Linked DNA regions of Homo sapiens: region 2 is linked to region 1. The links are contacts of gene promoters, found by promoter capture Hi-C in blood cells and fetal thymus (Javierre and others, 2016). All regions are on one chromosome and are shown on one strand. The core of a region is centred on a gene start or on the middle of the fragment in contact, and the rest is flanking DNA. Distances in the headings are between cores, read along the strand shown.

Evidence for each region. Contacts are between HindIII fragments. The CHiCAGO score rates a contact against its expected background, and 5 or more counts as called.
Region 2: a contact is called between a fragment that was not itself captured here and the fragment with the promoter of S100A7A in region 1, in 1 of 17 cell types (neutrophils). The highest score is 7.4, in neutrophils.

Annotation. Positions count from the first base shown.
Region 1 is chr1:153,413,549-153,419,738 of GRCh38, forward strand. It overlaps S100A7A (S100 calcium binding protein A7A), which reads left to right and starts at 2,972. Exons shown (of 3, transcript NM_176823.4): 1 at 2,972-3,015; 2 at 4,518-4,675; 3 at 5,597-6,190. The coding sequence starts at 4,535. The coding sequence ends at 5,761. It also overlaps a transcript of S100A8 not described here. The HindIII fragment of the contact is 2,279 bases long and covers 1,235-3,513 here.
Region 2 is chr1:153,642,917-153,649,175 of GRCh38, forward strand. It overlaps CHTOP (chromatin target of PRMT1), which reads left to right. Exons shown (of 6, transcript NM_015607.4): 5 at 311-448; 6 at 2,148-3,390. The coding sequence ends at 2,353. Among named protein-coding and RNA genes, the nearest start is that of CHTOP, 12 kb to the left of the region's middle. The HindIII fragment of the contact is 7,820 bases long and covers 1-5,868 here.

The sequences.
Region 1 (6,190 bases), core at 1,722-4,221:
ATTAATTTATTTCAATGTTTGCTTTGTATAATTCAATATTATGTTCTTGTGTATATAAGGATAAGACTATTGCCAGGTGCAGTGGCTCACAACTGTAATCCCAGCACTTTGGGAGGCCGAGATGAGTGGATCGCTTGAGGTCAGGAGTTCGAGACCAGCCCGGCCAACATGATGAAACCCCATTTCTATTAAAAATACAAAAATTAGCTGGATATAGTGGCAGGCGCCTATAATCCCAGCTACTCAGAAGGCCGAGGCAGGAGAATCGCTTGAACCTAGGAGGAGGAGATTGCAGCGAGCCAAGATGACACCACTGCACTCTAACCTGGGCTGCAAGAGCAAAAGTGTGTCTCATAAAAAAGAAAAAACAAGAAAGAAAAAAAAGATAAGACTATTGCATCTTGGTGACTTGCACACTAATCAATAGGAAATATTCTTCTTTTTCATTTAATCCCTTTTCTTAGAATTCTTTGTTGTCTTGTATTAATATTGTTGTCCCTGATTCCTTTTGTATTGCATTTCTTCTGTTCCTTTTTTTTATAAACAGTGATGATATGTAACTCAAAATGAATCATAGACCTACATGCAAAACATAATATTACAAAACTCCTAGATGGTAGCATAAGAGGAAATTTGATCATCTTGGTTTTGGTGATGACTTTTTAGATGCAACACCAAGGCACAATCCATGAAAGAAATAATTCATAAGCTGGACTTCTTTAAAATTTAACATTTCTGCTTTGTGAAAGATATTGTCAAGAGAATGAAAAGATAAGCCACAGACTGGGAGAAAATATTTACAAAAGACATATCAGACTTTGTATGTTATCCAAAACGTACAAAGAACTCTTAAAACTCAGAGATAAGAACACAAACCAAACAATTAGAAAATGGGCCAAAGACCTTAACAGACATCTCATCAAAGAAGATACAGAAGGTGACAAATAAGCATATCAGCTGATGCTCCACATCATATGTCCTCAAGGAAATGCAAATTAAAACAACAATGAGATACCAGTACACACTTATGAGAATGCCCAAAATCTGGAACACTGACAGCACCAAATGCTAAAGAAGGATGTGGAGCAACAGGAACTCTCATTCATTGATGGCAGGAACACAAAATAGTACAGCCACTTGGGAAGACAGTTTGGTGCTTTCTTAAAAAACTAAACATACTCTTACCATAGGATCCAGAAATCACACTCTTCGGGATTTACCCAAAAGAACTGAAAGCTTATGTCCACACAAAAACCTGCATACACATGTATATGAACACATTGCACAGTGGTGAAGTCCGGGCTTTTAATGCAGCCATCCTAAATAACACGCATTGTACCCACTAAGAAATGTCTCCTCCTTCACCCACCACCTGACCTCCTGCTCTTCACTGTCTCCAGTGTCTATGATTCTACTCTCTCTCTACCTCCATCTGTATGCATGATGTACCTCCCACTTACACATGAGGGTGCACAGTGTTTGACTTTCTTTTTCTGAGTAATTTCACTTAAGATAATAGCCTCCAGTTCCATCCATGTTGCTGCAAAAGTCATCATTTCATTCTTTTTATGGTTGAGTAGTATTCGTCTGTGTGTGTGTGTATGTGTGCGTTTGTGTGTGTGTTTGTGTGTGTGTGCGTGTGTGTGTGTGTGTGTATCTTTTGCCGCTAAAAGTAATATTGCCGTCATATGGGAAACTGGGAGAGGGAGAAACAGGTCCCCCTGGTTACATAAGAACTGACAGAGAAGGAAGTTGAAGAAAGATGATGGGTGGAGAAAATAGGTCCCACCTAGGGAGACATCACATCAGCTCTATGGAGCCCCAGAGTGCTTAAAGGGCTGGCACTAAATGAACCAGGACCTCTTGCGGCCTACAAGGAACATTGTAAGGGGGTAGCAGAAAAAGTCCATTTCAGTGATTCATCATCTCCTTTTCCTCACCATGCCCCAGGGACTCCTGTGCCTTCCCAACCCTCTTGCCCCTACCTGGTTCAGGCTTTCCACAGCAGGTTAGGGCACATTATAGCCAAGGGCACAACTCCCAACTCCTACACAGGCTGTTTTGCATAGGAGGAGGAAAAACACTGAAGACTTTCTGGGAAGTTAGTGCCATGGGGCAGGAAAGAACTTTTCCCACTCCCTACCTCCAGGCTCATTCCATGGGGCGGGGGGGGCGGGGGTCACTCCACCACTCAACCTAGATAGTGAGGCCCCTGACCCCAGTCCCCCCACCTAAATCCAGGGCTTCTGTGAGGGGCTGACCAATGGTTAGCAATGAAGTAATCCTGCTTCCCTCCCTGGACTTTGAGTTCCCATAGGGCAGACCCTGATGCAACCCAAGACCTATAGCACAGGGGATAAGAGTAAGGATTTGATTCAGGCTTTTCTTTGTTCGTGTGATGATTTGTTGTGTTTACTAGCTGAGTAAACTTGGGAACATCTCAACTTCTCCTTTCCTAAAATAGAGATTGCAGCACCTGCTTCTTAAGACTATGAGGGGAGGGTTGAGGAGGATGCAAGAGCAGCAGGTGTCTTGATGTCTAGACATTAAAACGCTCAGTAAGCGGTGGGGGTCATAGAACAGGCTGTCACAACAAATGTGTGGAAGTACTGGGGGAGGGAATAAACAAGACCATGCTGCCTTTGGGAGTCTGAAACTCCATTCTCTTTGGGTCCAGAGGCCCAGTGCTCTTTTCTCCCATTTCCTGACCTGTTACTACACATGTACCGCTGCCTTACCCTCAAATCAAGATTGAGCCAGAGAAGGCCCCAGGTGAGGTCTCTGGGGTGGGGTGGGACCTGGTGACCTGGGACCCTGGCCAGAAATCCTGAGCACAGCCTCCTGGGTGTGTCCCACACACCTGATATGGGACAAGCCTCCAAGAAACAGATGACAGAGGTGGCCCCAGGCCTCCCAACCCGTGGGAAGAGCCAGGCTGAGCCTTATAAAGGACTGCTCTTTGTCCAAACACACACATCTCACTCATCCTTCTACTCGTGACACTTCCCAGTTCTGGTAAGTCTCACCTGCCTCTTTGCATTTTCTAGAAGTGCCCAGTGCCCAGCCTGCCATGCTGCCTGTAGGAAGGGAAAGGGCTGTGGACAAAGTCTCAGAAGCCTGGGTCTAGGCCAGCTCTGCCATTAGCTGGGCTGTGTGACCTTCACTTGACCCCAAAAGCCCACGTCTGTACAACCAGGTGGCTGAACCAGACCTGTCCATTGCTCCTTTGGGATCTCCTGAGACAACTCCTGTGGAAATGTCCCCAGTGGGACCTGAGCACAGGACCCTCCCTTTCCTTCCTGTCTTCTTCCTCCCTGGATTCATTCTCCTTTTGGGATCCCAGTTGCTGAATCCCCTCCCCAGCTCTGCCCCCACAGAGGGAGGAGGGATAAGGATCCCCTGTGAATGCTTTGGAGGCTCTCCAAACCCCCAGGCCTTGGACCTGTAAATTCTCAGTCAATCTCTGGGCACAGGGCTTGGCCTCTGGCCTTGGCCTTGGCCTCAGATTCAGAAAGCTTTGAGTGGCTTCTCTTAGTCAGTTGCTGGCACGGAGCTTTCTCCTGCGTTGAGAGGTGTTGGGGGTTTATTGTCAGATGCCCACATGCGTTAGCCAAGGTCCTTTTCTGGTTCTTTGGAAAGTGTAGAAATGAGAGCTGCACTGTCTTATTTTTCAGGCTTGGGGTGCAGGGCAGCCCAGGCTGGCTACTGGCTGGAAGATCTGCTTTGGAAAGTCAGACATTTTTATTTAAACAGGGTCAACCCTTGGTGATTCAGAGGGTGCAGATATTTCCCAAGAGCAGACATGAAGCGACTCCCACCTCACTCCCACCCCATCCAGCAGCTTAAGAACCAGGGAGTTATTTCTGTTCCTTGTAACAGAGGCAATTCTTGTTTCTCATTCCCAAGGGAATGTAGGAAGGGCCCCCTGTCCTCGGGAGAGGGCTGTGTTTCCTGCTCACACTCATGTCCACGCTCACATGTGCACCTGGAGCCTGCACGCACTGTGTCATGCAGGGCTTGCACTTGAGTCAAGGTGGGGCCCACGGTGTCTGGTTCCTGAAGCAGCCGAGGAGGGTCAGACACCAGATCACCAAGGCCATTGTCCTGCCCCCGTGACTCTCACCCCGACTGTGAAGCTGGAGGAGATGGATTTGGTGCTGTTTCAAGAGTGGGGTCCGCCATGTGCTGGTTGAGGCTGGGGGGTCCCAGCTTAGTTCTTCTATGTGTTGCTGGCCTCCGACTCTCCCTGCTTCTCCTTCTCTGAAGCACTGTCCACAGCTGGACTTCTGCCATCCACCTGCATCTCTTCTTGGCCCTGGCCAGGATGGGCCGGGTCTCAGACTTGGTCCTACCCTCTCATTTTTGAACAACTTATCCCATCACATTTAAAAAAATCAAGTTCCTTCTGCTCCATCTTAGGGCTGTTTTTACTCTGTCCTCAGCCCTCCTTCTAACACCCCCACATAGAGACCTTAATTCAAACTAAGGTAAGAAATGATTGTCTTTATTTCCTGAAGGCTTTTTGAAAGCAAAGATGAGCAACACTCAAGCTGAGAGGTCCATAATAGGCATGATCGACATGTTTCACAAATACACCGGACGTGATGGCAAGATTGAGAAGCCAAGCCTGCTGACGATGATGAAGGAGAACTTCCCCAATTTCCTCAGTGCCTGTGTGAGTTGGGGTCTAGCTTCTCAATGTTGGTTGGACCCTGGCATGGCTGAGGATACATTTTGCTATGTGGCCTTGGACAGGTCACCCTCATCCTCTGATTAAAAAGTTTCCCATTTGCAAATAGGGCTTTATTGCTTGGATCATATGTGAATCTAAGGATGGTAGGCGAAAAAGTATGAAAATGGGAAAGAGTTATACAGATATAAAGGAGGTTATTAGATGGTCAGCAAAGTGTGCAGCTTGAGGACAGTGCACAGTCCCCTCCCAGCGCTCACTGACCCTCTCTCTGTGAGACTGAAACTCACATGCTCAGGTCCTGCTTCCCAAAGGCCCCACATCAACATCCCTGAGATTACTGGGAAAGCACTAGAAGTTCCATTGCTAGTAGAAATCAATAGCCCTCTTTGCAATAAAGAAAACTCATTGGCAAATCTGAAAAAACCTGTGGGCTACTAGGTACCAAAGGGTCTAGATGACCAAGAGTAGGGAACCCAGAAGATGAGTTTGGTGGAAAAGGAGAAGAAAGGAGAGGAGGTCAGAGAAAGAAGAGAACAAAGCATGAGGGCCAATTTTGAGGCCCTGGGGTAGAACTAAGGTAGGCAGTGCCCTTAAATGCTGGGAACAGGCAAGATTGAGGCTGGGGCAGGGGACTGCTCTCCCCAAGGTCACTTAACAGAGTGCCTCGGGACAGGACCTGCCTCCCATCCTGAGGTGTGAGACAAAAAGTCTCCTTAGAGAACTCCAGGGATAACACTCACGTCCTCACCCCAACTTCACCCACTCACCCTGTGCTCTCAGCCCCACGACCATGCCTGTGCAGATCTAGGTACTTGTCTGTATCTCTGCCTCCTCCTCTCCCCTCCCAGCCCAAAACTTGTTTGTGATTGAATTTTTCTATTTTGTATGTTTTTCTCTTCACAGGACAAAAAGGGCATACATTACCTCGCCACTGTCTTTGAGAAAAAGGACAAGAATGAGGATAAGAAGATTGATTTTTCTGAGTTTCTGTCCTTGCTGGGAGACATAGCCGCAGACTACCACAAGCAGAGCCATGGAGCGGCGCCCTGTTCTGGGGGAAGCCAGTGATCCAGCCCCACCAAGGGGCCTCCAGAGACCCCAGGAACAATAAGTGTCTCCTCCCACCAGACACTTGCCTTATTTCTTCTTCTCTTTGGTGACCTACATTGTCAAAACTACCAATTCCAGGTTAACTTTGTTGGAGAATTTCCCCCACCCCCATCCAGTGGGTCACCCAGGAGTAATGTCCCTCCAGCAACGTTCCCCCTATGGCCTCCAGCAGAGCTGATCTGCCTCTCACACAGGTCCTGGTGTCTGCCTCTGCACCGTTCCCTAAATGCAGCCACCTTGGCAGGTTCCAGGTGGAAGTTGGTAGAAGGCCCCTGCCAGGTCACAGCAATGCTCTCCTTGTCAAGGCATGGACCAGGGTCATTCAGACACATTCAGATACTGCACTGAGAAGGAGCTGGCATCTCTCAGTGTGCTCCTGCCCTCCCA
Region 2 (6,259 bases), core at 709-3,208, 230 kb after region 1:
GAACCATAGCATTTATTTTTAAATTTACCATAATGCTAGGCATCTATCTGATTATTCAGTAGATATTTATTAAATGTATGTACTTACTAATTGAATTAACTCCCAACTTCCAAAAATGGATTTGTGGTCAGACTTGTTGAATTGATTGAATAAAGAGTAGCTTAATCTGTTCACAGTATGCAGCTTGCCCCAGCCAACCTAAAAACTAACTGAATTACCTTCATTTAACCCTCACCGCCTTCCTTTGGTTAGAATCTACTTTGTGTCTCTTGGATTTACCTGCATATACATTGTATGCCTCCTCTCTAAGGTCAAAACCTGCTCCGAGGTGGACGAGCCGTAGCTCCCCGAATGGGCTTAAGAAGAGGTGGTGTTCGAGGTCGTGGAGGTCCTGGGAGAGGGGGCCTAGGGCGTGGAGCTATGGGTCGTGGCGGAATCGGTGGTAGAGGTTAGTCAGCTACCAACTTCAGAGAGTAGCTCCCCCTTACTTTCCTCCCTTAAAAACTCAGAGCCACCTTTCTGCACAGCTTCAAGTCATAGGCAGGCTTCTTTGTTTGTCTTGTTTTGTTATTTGAAACTGGCTTATTTTTCAAATTACCATGCTGGTAGTGCAAAAGTCTCATGATTTTTCCAAGAATCAATCAAGTGCATATTATAGAGCCAGATTATATGCCATCTTCCTCCAAGCTCTTGCAAATTTAAATTGTATAGTTGAAAATACCCCCCAAAATGGTCAGTTTAGGGTTTTGCCTTTCTCTGCCCCTGTCCCACCACCATCACCACCACATACCACCCTGTAGCTCCAAATCCTGGTTTGAGTCACATGAGAATATAGAAGAGAGAGAGAGATACAAAGATGAAGTAGAGTTAAGAGGGTGGTGAGACTTGGAGCTGGGCATTGGCTCTGAAACCAAATAAATTCAATGTCACATTTGGTGCCTGTGGAGAACCAGAGATGACTTTTTTTGCTTAAGGTAGAGAGCAAGATGGAATTATTATCAGTTAACTAACTGGCTCTTATTGATAATCTTGCCTTTGAAATTTATTGATGTTTGTCTTGTGACCTCATGACCCAGATTGGGAAAGAGTTTAATGATGTTGCTGCTGTTAATACTAAATCTCATGGGAGCCTTCTGGTTTAGAGCTTAGTGGAAAACTCCCAACACCTGTCCAGAAAAAAAACACTATTGAAGCCCCTGTGTATATTTGCTTTGGTTCTCTTAAAAGGTGTCTTGGGTCTTCCATAACTTATGACCTTGAAGTTGCCAAGGAATAATAACTGTTAGGAAAGAAAAGTTGATAACCAAGGGCTTGTTTTCTTCTCTCCCATTATATGATACTTACTGAGTGAAGTGCAAGCTAGTTTGGGTTTCAGGATGAAATAACATGTTTCCAAATTATCTTGACTTGGATCCTGAGAGACATCACGAGGGTGGGAGAGACTAAAATAGCTTTTCAAAAAGCTGAGTTTGTTTTGTTAACTGAATTCACACTGCTTCTCAGATAACCACAATTGTCAGTTGTCATAAGGTAACTAGAATTAAAGGTAGAAATAGCTAGGACAACTCAAAATATTTTTTCAAATCTCCCCTACATTGTTCCTGTGTCAGAAAAACTCAGTCTCCTGACACATGAGGTCAGCTAGCTCATTAGACTTGATAAGTTTAAGGACAGGTGAGATGACTTTCCAGAAGGGTCTCCAATAAACTTAATTTGAAAACTGTCTTGTCTTCACACCCCTGATGCTCTGTGCTCTTGTTACCACCTCCCTATCTTACCAAATGGGGTTATCTGTCATGTATTTTAATTATGAACTTAGTGAATCTCAAATGTTAGGTAATTTTATCTTAGGATTGATTAAGGTTTTTTAAAATTATAGTTGCCAGTTAATTATTTTCCTTTATTGATAGAATAAAATTTGTTAAAATAGCATTTAGAGATGATCATGTGATAGAGGATTCATTATGTGTGCTTTCCATGTGTTGCTTTCTACCCATTGTGTTTCCTTTTTTTCCAGATTTCTCCTCTTTGCCCTGCCCTTCAGCTTTTCTCAGCTAGGCCCCACTGCTCTAAGGGGCATTTACTACAGCACCTATTAAACTTACTTGTAACTGTCTCTTTTTTTTTTTTTTTCCCCTTTGGGCCAGGTCGGGGTATGATAGGTCGGGGAAGAGGGGGCTTTGGAGGCCGAGGCCGAGGCCGTGGACGAGGGAGAGGTGCCCTTGCTCGCCCTGTATTGACCAAGGAGCAGCTGGACAACCAATTGGATGCATATATGTCGAAAACAAAAGGACACCTGGATGCTGAGTTGGATGCCTACATGGCGCAGACAGATCCCGAAACCAATGATTGAAGCCTGCCCATCCTCCCATGAGAGACTCTTGTTAGTCAACACATCTGTAAATAACCTTGAGATAACAGATGAGAAGAAATCTGATTGATGCTGGATGGACCTATCACAATAGGCTGTGGACTTACTTGCCACCAGCTTGTGCATTTAGTGTGTTCCTTTTACTTTTTGATACTGTGTTGTATGAAACCCTTTTGTCCTTTGATTTGGTTTTTTGTTTTTGTTTTTTTAGGGGGGAGGGGGGGTTTCCCCTCCTTTGCCCAGACTTCTCTTTGAACACAAATGCATTAGCCTTGTGGCTAGAACACCCTCTTCCTACCTCTGTCTCCCCTCACTTGTCATATGCTCTGACATGCTAACATTTCTTTTGTTCATCCCTGTTGCCCCCACAGAAACATCCCAGAAAAACCGGTCAGTGTTCCTTCCTCCCTGATCCTTAGGTTTCTGAAATAGGGTTCTGTTACATCCTCTTCGATAGCCTGTTTAAAATGTTTAGAAGGTCTGGAGCTCAAAAATGCGTTCTTCCACATTGATAATTTAGTAAACTGAGAACATTGACATCACTACAGGGCAGCATAAGAGGTTGCTTACATGTGGTAGCAGCTCTGGTTTGATTCAAGTTGCTACCATGTACATTGACAGCACATATACCATAACCAGCGTGTTGGGTTGAATTGCACTTTCTACCTTTGTATGAGATTTACAGACTTTCCTTCTGGGTTTGTATCATGACCAGAGGGGTACTATAGGGTTGGTTTATACTGCAATATAGAGGATCAGAAGCCATTTGATTTGGTAGGTGTGTCAGAAGGGAGAATGATGGCAGACGAACTGCTGGAAGAGGTCAGAAGATAGCCATGCTAAAATGCAATTATATCCTCATGTTTATCCCAAACTAATCTTGGACTTTTCCACTCATTAGCTTTGTTTTGCCCTTGTTTCCCTTGAAGGTTTAAGTTCAACCATATTCTGTCAACTGTTCAGTTTCAGTGGAATCTTGTATTTCTGGTTCATTATAACAAACTGTTCGCTTAAATCCACCCAGGACTCTCTTTATTTGAGGTGCCTCAAAATGCCATGGCTACTTTAATGATGTTTTTTTTTTTTTTTCTTGTGACCGAGTCTCGCTCCTGTCACCAGGCTGGAGTGCAGTGGCGCGATCTTGGCTCTGCAACCTCCAACTCTCTGGTTCAAGCGATTCTCCTGCCTCAGCCTCCCGGGTGGCTGTGACTACAGACATGTGCCACCACACCCAGCTAATTTTTGTATTTTTAGTAGAGATGGGGTTTCACCATGTTGGCCAGGATGGTCTTGATCTCTTGACTTGGTGATCCACCCGCTTCAGCCTCCCAAAATGCAGGGATTACAGGCGTGACCCACTTTCAGCCTCCCAAAGTGCAGGGATTACAGGCGTGACCCACTGCACCCAGCCACTTTAATGATGTCTTGATATACCCCTTGTATGGTTGAGAGTTTCTTTCTTCTTACTTGTGTTAAAATTCTGGAGAGCCTGTGGCTTTGAGCAGAAAGTGAAGAATTTGACTTCCTCTGAGCTCTGCAGAAATAACACCACGCCCACAAAAACTCAAGGAAGATTGTCTTGGGCAACATTCTGGGCCCTTGGGCCCTGGCACATATTTCCCTTTTTCCCTATGTTGAGAGCTGAAGAGAAAAGAACCTAGTAGCGCCCAGCCAAGCCAGTTGTCATTGGGCTGCCTTTCACCCTAAACTGCCAGGAGGTTGTACTTACTGGGGGCTGGGAAGGAAATTTTGGTCAGGACAACCCAAACTTGAATCCTGTGATGTGGGGTGTCTGTAGGTCCCAAGGGAGATGGGCAGTGGGGGTCTAGCAGAAGGCTACAGGTTGGACGGTGACTGCAGAACTGAATCCCCAGTTCAGCTCCTTCTGCCTTTTCCAGTGCTAAAGCATGAGGACTTCCCCTCCCAGCCAACCTCCCCAACAACCCAAACAAGTGCAAAATGCCAGGCTCCCTCCTACCCCAGAGGAGACTGATGCTTAAGAGTTCTCTATAAAGGAGGTGACTGCCGTAGCCTAGGCTTCCTTCCTTCTACCTCCATGTCCTTCCTACTTCATTGAAAGAATTTATCCCCAAATCGCTTATGTGGGGCACAGGGAACTCTCCTATCAGCCAAGGGTCCTCCAGCCCCACCTACTGCTCACTACAGTTCCCAGGGTCTCCTGAGGCCTGTGTCCCTGTCATCCTCAGTCACTGGTCGTGTGGGACAAGGTGAGTAAACCTGACCTCCTCTGGGTCAGCCTTTCATTCAGCTGCCATGTGCTGAGGGCTTGCCATACCAACACAAGGCATCCTTTGTAAGGGTAACATTAGGAGCATAGGGAAGAGGTTGATGAGCTGGATCTTTTAAGACAAGGGAAAGTAGAGAAAATACACCAAGCAGAGGGAACCAAGTGTAAAGGTACAGTGCTAAAAGAACACCTGAGGCTGGGCACAGTGGCTTACGCCTGTAATCCCAGCACTTTGGGAGGCCGAGGCGGGTAGATCACCTGAGGTCGGGAGTTTGAGACCAGCCTGACCAACATGGAGAAACCCCGTATCTACTAAAAATATGAAATAAGCTGGGCGTGGTGGCACATGCCTGTAATCCCAGCTACTCGGGAGGCTGAGACAGAAGAATCACTTGAACCCGGGAGGCGGAGGTTGCAGTGAGCCGAGATGGCGCCATTGCACTCCAGCCTGGGCAACAAGAGTGAAACTCCATCTCGAAAAAAAAAAGGTGGTCCTGCTGCTATGAATAGATAGCTCCATGGACCCAGCAGGGGTTAGGGTAGAGGCTCCCACTTATGCCTCGGTGGGCTCTCCCACCTGCGTCACACCCTGGCTAGTGACCCAGTCAGACGTGCTGGGGACCCTGGCTGACCACCTGTACCAGGGGCAAGGAAGGAAGGAGAGGGGAGCATTGTGAAGCAGGGCAGGATGACTCTTGAAGGTGGAGACAGGCCCTGGACAGCTCTGGGACCCTTAATGGTGGCAGCAGCCCCCAGTCATAGGCCTCATTGTGTGGGCAGCCTGGGACAGCTAAGATCCCCATGAGGTCTCTTTAAAGGATTCACTAAATGCTCCATTTAGTCTTGGTTTGTTTTTTTGTTTTGTTTTGTTTTTTGAGATGGAGTCTCGCTCTGTTGCCTGGCTGGAATGCAGTGGTGCAATCTTGGCTCACTGAAAACTCCAACTCCCTGGTTCAAGCAATTCTGCCTCAGCCTCCTGAGTAGCTGGGATTACAGGCATGCGCCACCACACCCAGCTAATTTTTGTATTTTTAGTAGAGACGAGGTTTCACCATGTTGGCTAGGATGGTATCGATCTCCTGACCTCGTGATCCATCTGCTTCGGCCTCCCAAAGTGCCGGGATTACAGGCGTGAGCCACCACGCCTGGCGATTTTGTTTCTTACCCTTTAGTGTAAGGTGATTATCAGCTGAAGATTTAAACACATCCATGAGGAGATGGGGGAAGGGGTTCCTTCAGAAAGTCCTAAAGCTTTCCTCTGGAATTTTTTTTTTTTTTTTGGAACAGAGTTTCACTCTTATTCCCCAGGCTGGAGTGCAATGGCACGATCTGGGCTCACCACAACCTCCACCTCCCAGGTTCAAGGGATTCTTCTGCCTCAGCCTCCCGAGTAGCTGGGATTACAGGCATGCACCACCACGCCCGGCTAATTTTGTATTTTTAGTAGTGATAGGGTTTCTCCATGTTGGTCAGGCTCGTCTCGAACTCCTGACCTCAGGTGATCTGCTCGCCTCGGCCTCCCAAAGTGCTGGGATTACAGGCATGAGCCACCGCACCCAGCATCCCCTTTGGATTTTAATTCAAAGCACATACTCTCAGGAGTTTAATTTCAAGAGGAAAGCCAGTTCAGACAACAGAGA